Linked DNA regions of Homo sapiens: region 1 is linked to region 2. The links are contacts of gene promoters, found by promoter capture Hi-C in blood cells and fetal thymus (Javierre and others, 2016). All regions are on one chromosome and are shown on one strand. Each heading gives the region's core, a stretch centred on a gene start or on the middle of the fragment in contact. The rest is flanking DNA. Distances are from core to core; before and after follow the strand shown.

What was found. The method cuts DNA at HindIII sites, captures the fragments that hold promoters and counts their contacts. A CHiCAGO score of 5 or more calls a contact.
Region 1: a fragment that was not itself captured here is called in contact with the fragment with the promoter of GLUD1 in region 2 in 1 of 17 cell types (activated CD4 T cells); the score reaches 5.7 in activated CD4 T cells.

The regions. Positions count from the first base shown.
Region 1 is chr10:110,222,454-110,226,732 of GRCh38, reverse strand. All of the region lies in intron 1 of MXI1 (MAX interactor 1, dimerization protein), which reads right to left. Among named protein-coding and RNA genes, the nearest start is that of MXI1, 17 kb to the right of the region's middle. RefSeq lists enhancers at 259-328, 929-988 and a silencer at 659-818. The HindIII fragment of the contact is 4,658 bases long and covers 1-3,876 here.
Region 2 is chr10:87,093,064-87,096,984 of GRCh38, reverse strand. GLUD1 (glutamate dehydrogenase 1) reads left to right here and starts at 2,142. Exons shown (of 13, transcript NM_005271.5): 1 at 2,142-2,660. The coding sequence starts at 2,216. SHLD2 (shieldin complex subunit 2) reads right to left here and starts at 1,779. Exons shown (of 10, transcript NM_001330112.2): 1 at 1,737-1,779; 2 at 1-51. RefSeq lists enhancers at 1,129-1,188, 3,593-3,921 and silencers at 1,231-1,488, 1,409-2,108, 2,229-2,368, 2,569-2,908. The HindIII fragment of the contact is 4,292 bases long and covers 624-3,921 here.

The sequences.
Region 1 (4,279 bases), core at 298-2,797, about 23 Mb before region 2:
CTTCCCCACATGCCCCTCCCATCACAAGCGCGCTCCCCTCCTTCACTCGCCCCTCCCCTCACGCGCGCGCTCCTCACACGCCCCCCTTACACGCCTGCTCCCCTACCCACACGCCCCTCCTCACACGCGCGTCCCCTCCCTCACACGCCCCTCCCCTCACACGCGCGCACCCCTCCCTCACACGCCCCTCCCCTCACACGCGCGCTCCCCTCACGCGTGCGCACCCCTCCCTCACACGCCCCTCCCCTCACGCGCGCTCCCCTCCCCACACGCCCCTCCCCACACACGCGCGCTCCTCTACCCTCACGCGCGCACACCCCTCCCCTCACATGCGCGCACACCTCACCTCATGCGCGCACCTCACACGCGTGCCCTCCCTTACCGGCCGCACCGCACTGCCGAAAAAGATTAGTAGCGCTCGGGCTCACGCAGCGGCGCCCAGCCATTACCTCGCTCCCGGCGCTCCAAAAACTCGGCAGCCTCCAGCAGACGCTGCACGTTGATCATCTTCACCCGCTCCATGGGCACCGCGGGTGGCGACCGGCGCCTCTCCGCACTCCCTTCTCGGGCCGACAGGAGGCGCCGCAGGCGGCTACGGCCGGGCGCCGTTCCGGAACATGTGCGACGGGCGGGCGGGCCAGCTCGGCCGCGGCTCGGCGCGCTCTCCGCCGCCCCTGCCGCCCCAGCCGCGCCAGCCGCGCCCGCCGTGCCGCGGGCAGCCCGCGCGTGGTTTGTTTACCTCTCCCCGCGAGCACGGGGGAGGGGCGGGAGCAGCGCCGGGGCCCGCCCCCTCCCGCCCCTGCCTCTGCCCCCTGGGAAATGTAGTCCCGCACCCGCCCGCGGCTGCCGGGAATCGTAGTGCACACGCCGTTTCAGGGCGCCTGCGTTCCGCAAGATTCGCAAAGGTCGTCGGAAGGTGTAGTCCCGCTGGGTTTCCTTTCCTGTCTCTAGGGAAGACTAAGAAGTTGCGGGACTTTGCTTCTGGGAGGGAAGAATTTTTTTTTCCTCCCTCCAGACACGATGTGGAATGGGAAGGATTTGAGCGAGCTGGGAGTCTACTCCCGGGGAAACTTGTTTCTCAGCGACTCCCTGCGGTTGCCCAGGGGCTGAGACATTCTTTATTCGAAGTATCATGTTCCAGTCCTCTATCTCCTACTTTCTCATGTAACTTATGTGCCTCAGTTTGCTCATCTGCAAAATAAGAAGAGTAACACACCTGCACCAACAGCGCACACAGAAACTGGAAAAGCCAAAATTGCTGTTCAAAAACGAGGGATGATTTCATCAGAGAGGGTTTCCATGAAGCCCTTCTTCCACCTCAGCTTCCACACAGACAAGTAGTTACTTTTTTCTTTAATCTTACTTTTTAAAACTTTCTCCTCTCCTCACTAGTGCTTTTAGACGCCAGAAAATTCTCCCTGGTGCGGAACAGTTTGGTTCAAATCCTGACTCTGCTACTTACACTGAGACCTGTGTGAACTCTTCCAGCCTCATTTTCCTTATGTATAAAATGGATATGATCATATCCACGGCGTTGAGGGCGTGCCATGTGCCAGGCACTGTACTAGACTTAGTTTGCATAGTAAGAGAGAAACGGACGCAGACCTGCTCTCGAGGTTTGTGTATTCAGTAGTGCTTTTTGCAAAGATTAAATATAATAATTCCAGCACTTAGTATATACTAGGCACTCAGTAAATAGAAGCGATGATGATGTTTTCTCTTATGCTCTCCTCTGTAGCTAAAAAGGAAGTTAGAGAGCGGAGACCACATTAAAAGACTACCACTGGCCGGGCACAGTGGCTCACGCCTGTAATCCCAGCACTTTGGGAGGCTGAGGTGGGCGGATCACCTGAGGTCAGGAGTTCGAGACCAGCTTTGCCAACATGGTGAAACCCTGTCTCTACTAAAAATACAAAAATTAGCCGGGCATGGTGGCGGGTGCCTGTAATCCAAGCTACTCGGGAGGCTGAGGCACGAGAATCGCTTGAACCCGGGAGGCGGAGGTTGCAGTGAGCCGAGATCACGCCACTGCACTCCGGCCTCCAGCCTGGGCAACAGAGCAAGACTCAGTCTCAAAGAAAAAAAAAAAAAAAAAAAGCCACTGACTGCTCATTCATGGCCACTCTCTTTCTAAGTCCTCCACCTAAAAAATCCTCAAAGTCTAGACCAGGGTTTCTCAACTTTAGCATCATTGACATTTTGATCTGGGTAATTCCTCCTTGGAGCAGGAGCTCTGTTCCGTGCTTTGCAGGATGTTTAGGAGCATCCCTGGCCTCTACCCACTAGATGCCAGTAGCACACCACCACCCCTCAGGTGTGACAACCAAAAATGCCTCTAGACATTGCCAAATATCTCCTGGGGCACAAAATCCCTCCCCTGTCCCCCAGTTGGGAACAAGGGATCTAGGGAGAGGAAGAACAAGAGAATCGTACTTGAATGCTCTAGGAACAAGCTGGGAACCGTGCAAACATACCCATAACTTTTTTCCACCCCAATTATATTAACCTGCTGCTTGACATCACATCCAAAATAACAGGAAGCTCCTGGTGAGGGGGGAGTTTCCCCCTCCCGTGGTCATTCCATTGGCTCCTGCAGAAAATACCATCTTGAGATGGAAATCTTACCCTCTTAAAAATGTTATCGGCTTCATGCTGCATTTTAATATACCTTTCCCTCATACCTTTTGTTTTCTTACCTTTCCCTCATACCTTTTGTTTTCTTTTTTCTTTTCTTTTTTTTTGGTAAAGTGAACAAAATCTCCAGTGAGGTCACAAGCTGCAAAATTCTGCCAGTCCTTTTAAATATTACACTTGGCACCACATTTAAGACCAAATAGACGTTCCATCAAATGCAAGCAGACCCAAAATGAGAGGTGTTCGCAAGCCACAGAAGAACTTTTTTTTTTTTTTGTAAAGGCTTTCAAAAAGGGACTGTTCTTTTAGCTCTTGACTAGGTCGTTTTGGATCTGGACTTTCCCAGGTCATTTTGGATCTGGACTTTCCCACTGGGTGTTGGTAACAACCTCCCTTCACCCTCAACAAGGGCCATGTTGGGTAGGGGTGGGACTGGATTATTTTAAAGAAAATACCATTCATTTAGAACATCTGTTAGTTGAGGGTAGAATTTATTTATTTTTTATTTATTTATTTATTTATTTTTTGAGACGGAGTCTTACTCTGTCACCCCAGCTGGAGTGCAGTGGCGCGATCTCGGCTCATTGCAACCTCCACCTCCCGGGTTCTCCTGACACAGCCTCCCAAGTAGCTGGGGTTACAGGCGCCTGCCACCACGCCCAGCTAATTTTTTGATTTTCGTAGAGACAGGGTTTCACCATGTTGGCCACACTGGTCTCAAACTCCTGACCTCGTGACTCGCCCACCTCAGCCTCCCAAAGTGTCCCTGGCCAGGACAAATACAACTCTACTTTTCTCAATAGGAGGTAAACTTGTGTGACAAGCAATCAAGAAAAGTAGTACAAACTGAAAATATACATGAATTCAAGATGGCTTTAATTCCAGAGGTCACAGAACCATAGCTGGTTAGGAAGAGATGGCTACATGCAAGAGGCCTGGGGCCTATGCATGGCCTTTCACAGTTGACCTCCAGGTGAACTAACCTAGAGCCCTTCTTCTAGAGCCATGGCCAAGAGGGAGATGAGGACATGGAAAGTAGAGCGAGACTCACCAAAAGGCCACCTGCATTGAAGAAGGGGAGAGATGATGATCATGGTGGGCAGTATTAAGGGCTGGTTCATGTACAGAAATCTCCAGCCTTTTCTAAAAGCAATTGAAGTGCCACTTCCTTCTCCCTGCGCTGGCTGCCTCCTGGAGTCCTTCCTTGGACATCAGCTATAAGGGCCTCTCCAGCACAAAGCTTAGGGCTCTATCCACAGGAAAGTAATGCTACCCACAAACCATCCCTCAGCAACAGTCTCAGCCCGGAGGAACCCAGAGGCAGCCATAGCCTTTCTTTTGTTCCGATGAACTAGTTTGCACTACAAATGCAGATGGGGAAACAGGAAAAGCAAGGCTTCCAAAGTCTACTGACATAAGAACCTGGAATCCTACCCATAGTCTCTGTTCTGTCCTCTCCCTAAAGTATATCTCTCTCTCAAGGGAGTCATTTGAAAATGGAGAAAGTCCCCCAGAATACCCCAGGCCTATAACGATCACAGCCACGGATGGGGACAATCTGCCTTCTGAAGGAAGCAGGCAAAGCCCTCAATTCTTAAGGGTCCTTTCTCAGCACAGTTTACTTAGTGACAATTTCCAAGTGATT
Region 2 (3,921 bases), core at 893-3,392:
TCTTTTGACCATCAAGGAAAATTCAGGATTCAGGTCAGAGTACATTTTTCACTGAAAAACACAGTGCAAATACAATTAATGACAATGACTTATTTAGCAAGTAAGGTAAAATATAAGTTCCACCTGTATGAAAAGATAATTTTGACTTTGAGAGTACACTTAGATGAATGTCATTTAACAGATCCAGGTTGTCACCTTATATTTTACACAATATTTCGAGAACTAAGAACTTTCTCTTCCATATTCTAAAAGATGAATAACATGAACATATCGGGAAGCACCATCGTTTTGCAGGTCCAATGGGTGTCATTTTAAAACCACCCAAGTACACTGAGACCGCTAACGCTAGTAATGTGGTGTTTGGCAGCTAGTTTTAATGACTGTCATTAGAGCTTTATTTTTTATTTTCTTTTTATAGAGACGAGCCCAGGCTGGTCTTGAACTCCTGGCCTCAAGCGATCAGCCTGCTTTGGCCCCCAAAGTGCTGGGATTACAGGCGTGAGCCACCGTGCCAGCCTCGTTAGTTTGAAAAGCACCAAAAGCTATCCATAGGAATGTGAACTTTAGCATTTCCTATCAAGTATGTATAAATACATAACTGAACCCTCATACAGCATAAAGCTTATAAATCATATACTGAGGCCAGGCGCGGTGGCTCACGTCTGTAATCCCAGCATTCTGGGAGGCCTAGGCGGGCGGATCACTTGAGGTCAGGCGTTGGAGACCAGCCTGGCCAGCACAGCGAAACCCCGTCTCTACTAAAAATGCAAAAATTAGCCGGGCGTGGTGGCGCGGGCCTGTAATCCCAGCTACCCCGAGGCTGAGGCAGGAGAATCGCTAGAACGAACCCAGGGAGGTGGAAGCTGCAGTGAGCCGAGATGGTGCCACTACACTCCCGCCTGGGCGACAGAGCAAGATTCCATCTCAAATAAATAAATAAAATAAAAAATAAATCATATACTGAACCATTTAACAAATACATATATTCCTGAGAAAGAATTTCCTGGGGGCATTATCGCATTTCTAGTTTCCTTATTTTAGACTATTTCAGAGGGAGATAGGGTCTCCCTCTGTTGCCCAGGCTGGGGTGCAGTGGAGCTATCGTAGCTCACTGCAGCCTCGAACTCCTGGGCTCAAGCCATCCTCCAGCCTCGACCTCCCAAAGTGCTAGGACTAAAGGCGTGAGCCACCGCGCCGGGCCGGAGCCTCTGTCTGCAAAGGTGAAGCAGTCAGTACTGTGGGGCGACACAACCACGACGTGCGTAACTATGCGATCTCCACACTGCGGAGCAGTTGAACGGGACAATAAAAGCTCGCGTGGTGAGAGCTTGTGGGCGAGTGACTCCCTTCCAGCTCACGCCAGCCACGCATAATCCAACTCCGGGTGCCACGCCGCTCTCTGCAGCCCTGGCTGGTGACGCCGAGCCCTCAGCCCGGCCTTACGCGGCGGCGGCTCTGCCTCGCTTTCCTGCCCACGTGTCAGCCCCTGCACGCCCGGCCCCGGCCTGAGGCCGCCAGAGGACAGGCCAGGGTGGGCCGCCCGTTCCGAGGGCGCGCGGGCGGAAAGGAGGGGCGCCCGTGACTCACATGACCCGGTCCCCGACCAGACCGCCAAGCCTCACCCACGCGGCGCTCGGGGGGACTCGGCCTCTGAGCGCCCTACAGAGGCCAGCCCCCGACCCCGACCTCCCTGGGCTACCCCCAACCCCCCTGAGGGACCCCCGCGGCGCACATACCTGAGAGCCCCGCCGGAGGCGGGTGCGGCCTCCGGGCAAATCCGGCCGCCCGTGGGCCCGCCCCGACCCGCCCCGACCCGCCCCGACCTTCCCCTCCCTGCCCCTCCCGTCCGTTCCCCTCCACTCTCCTCCCCGCCCTTCCTCTCCCCTCCCCTCCCTTCCCCACTGGCGCGCGAGCGTGCGCGCCGAGCCCGCCCGCGCCTGCGCGCCCCCGACGCCCCGCCGGCGCGCGCTGCCGCCAGCGAGGCCCGGGGAGGCCGCGGCGGAGGCGGAGGCCCGGCGCCCTGGGCGGCGCCCTGTCCCCGAAGTCCGTCCTCCCCGTTAGGTGGCGAGCGCCCGAGGGGAGGGGACAGCCGGGCAAGCAGGAAGCTGCGGCTTAAAAGGGCAACCCGCGCGGGACCCTTCCTCCCTAGTCGCGGGGAGTCTGAGAAAGCGCGCCTGTTTCGCGACCATCACGCACCTCCCCTCCGCTTGTGGCCATGTACCGCTACCTGGGCGAAGCGCTGTTGCTGTCCCGGGCCGGGCCCGCTGCCCTGGGCTCGGCGTCCGCCGACTCGGCCGCGTTGCTGGGCTGGGCCCGGGGACAGCCCGCCGCCGCCCCGCAGCCGGGGCTGGCATTGGCCGCCCGGCGCCACTACAGCGAGGCGGTGGCCGACCGCGAGGACGACCCCAACTTCTTCAAGATGGTGGAGGGCTTCTTCGATCGCGGCGCCAGCATCGTGGAGGACAAGCTGGTGGAGGACCTGAGGACCCGGGAGAGCGAGGAGCAGAAGCGGAACCGGGTGCGCGGCATCCTGCGGATCATCAAGCCCTGCAACCATGTGCTGAGTCTCTCCTTCCCCATCCGGCGCGACGACGGCTCCTGGGAGGTCATCGAAGGCTACCGGGCCCAGCACAGCCAGCACCGCACGCCCTGCAAGGGAGGTGAGCGTCGGCCGGGCCCCGTCCCGCCCTCCCTGCCTCCCCTGCGGCCCTCCCCTCCGGCCTCCTGCCGGTGCGGGGCCGCTGCTCAGCCCAGCCCAGCCCAGCTGGAGCGGGCCGGGTCCCCGCCCGGGTCACCCCGCCTCGGATGTGGCCGGCTCTGTGGATGGTGATTTTTCCGCCTTAAAATCATCATGCGATTGGCCTGCCCCCTCCCCCGCGCCGTCACCCCGGGCCTCTGTATATGCTGATCTTGCATGCAGAGTAGACGCTGCACCGGTCTCCTTTTGGTCCCGGTGTCTGTGTCACACACGGCGGGTCCTGCCGAAATGCACTTCTAGGAAAGGGAATGACCTGCCCGTGTGATAATGCCTCGTCAGTGTTCTTGGGCTTTTGTGAGTCTCCCCTAAATGCAAGCTGTCAAATTATTTTCTGGTATTTGTTCACTCCTGTTCCAATAGTGACAGATGATATCCGAACATAGAAAATGACTTGGCTTCTAAGTTTGAAATCTAGACAGTTTTATTAACCAAAGGAATTTACTAATCACGCGTTAATCGTTTCAATTAAGTAATTTTCCCATTCTGACAAGTTCTGTTTTATACCAAAAAAAAGGAAAAACACAAAAAAATCACAAGCAATGTAATATCTCTGACAAATAAACACCTGGCGTCCTGACAGTAAATTTACAGGTTGTAGGCTGCGGATGGCCAGCCAGCCAATGGAATGAAATAGCTCTGGGGGTGTGTACTGGTCCTGGCTAGCCCTGAATTTGAGCTTCAGGAAAAATATAGTACGTGAAGAAAGGGGTCAGATAATGTTTGGTAGTCACTGGGTTATCCTGTGGTTTAAATCATTTAATGTCTGTAGATTTGGCCTCTGTAGTCAGATTGCTTTCTTCGAGCAAATAAGAGCTTTTTTCCCCCCAATACATTGCATCATACCTCTTTAGTAACATAAAATGGAAAGGACAAACCACTTTTGTCTACTGTAAAAAAGAAAAATTATATGGAATAAAGAGCCCAGGGAGGCGAGGAGTCTTGTTGGAGGTGGATTGGCTGAGAAGCACAGAGGATGTTGGGCTAGACCCATGTCTCAGTAAACCTGGTTCTGTGGTCTTTCAGTTATGCCCGCTGACTTATGAGGATTTTTAGAAATCCTCTCTGTACCGGAAAAAACTTGAGCGGTGCTGGTGTTCCCAGCAGGGGGGACAAAGGTTGTTTTTAAAGATTTACTAAATTTGCATTGACCCCGCCCACTTCTA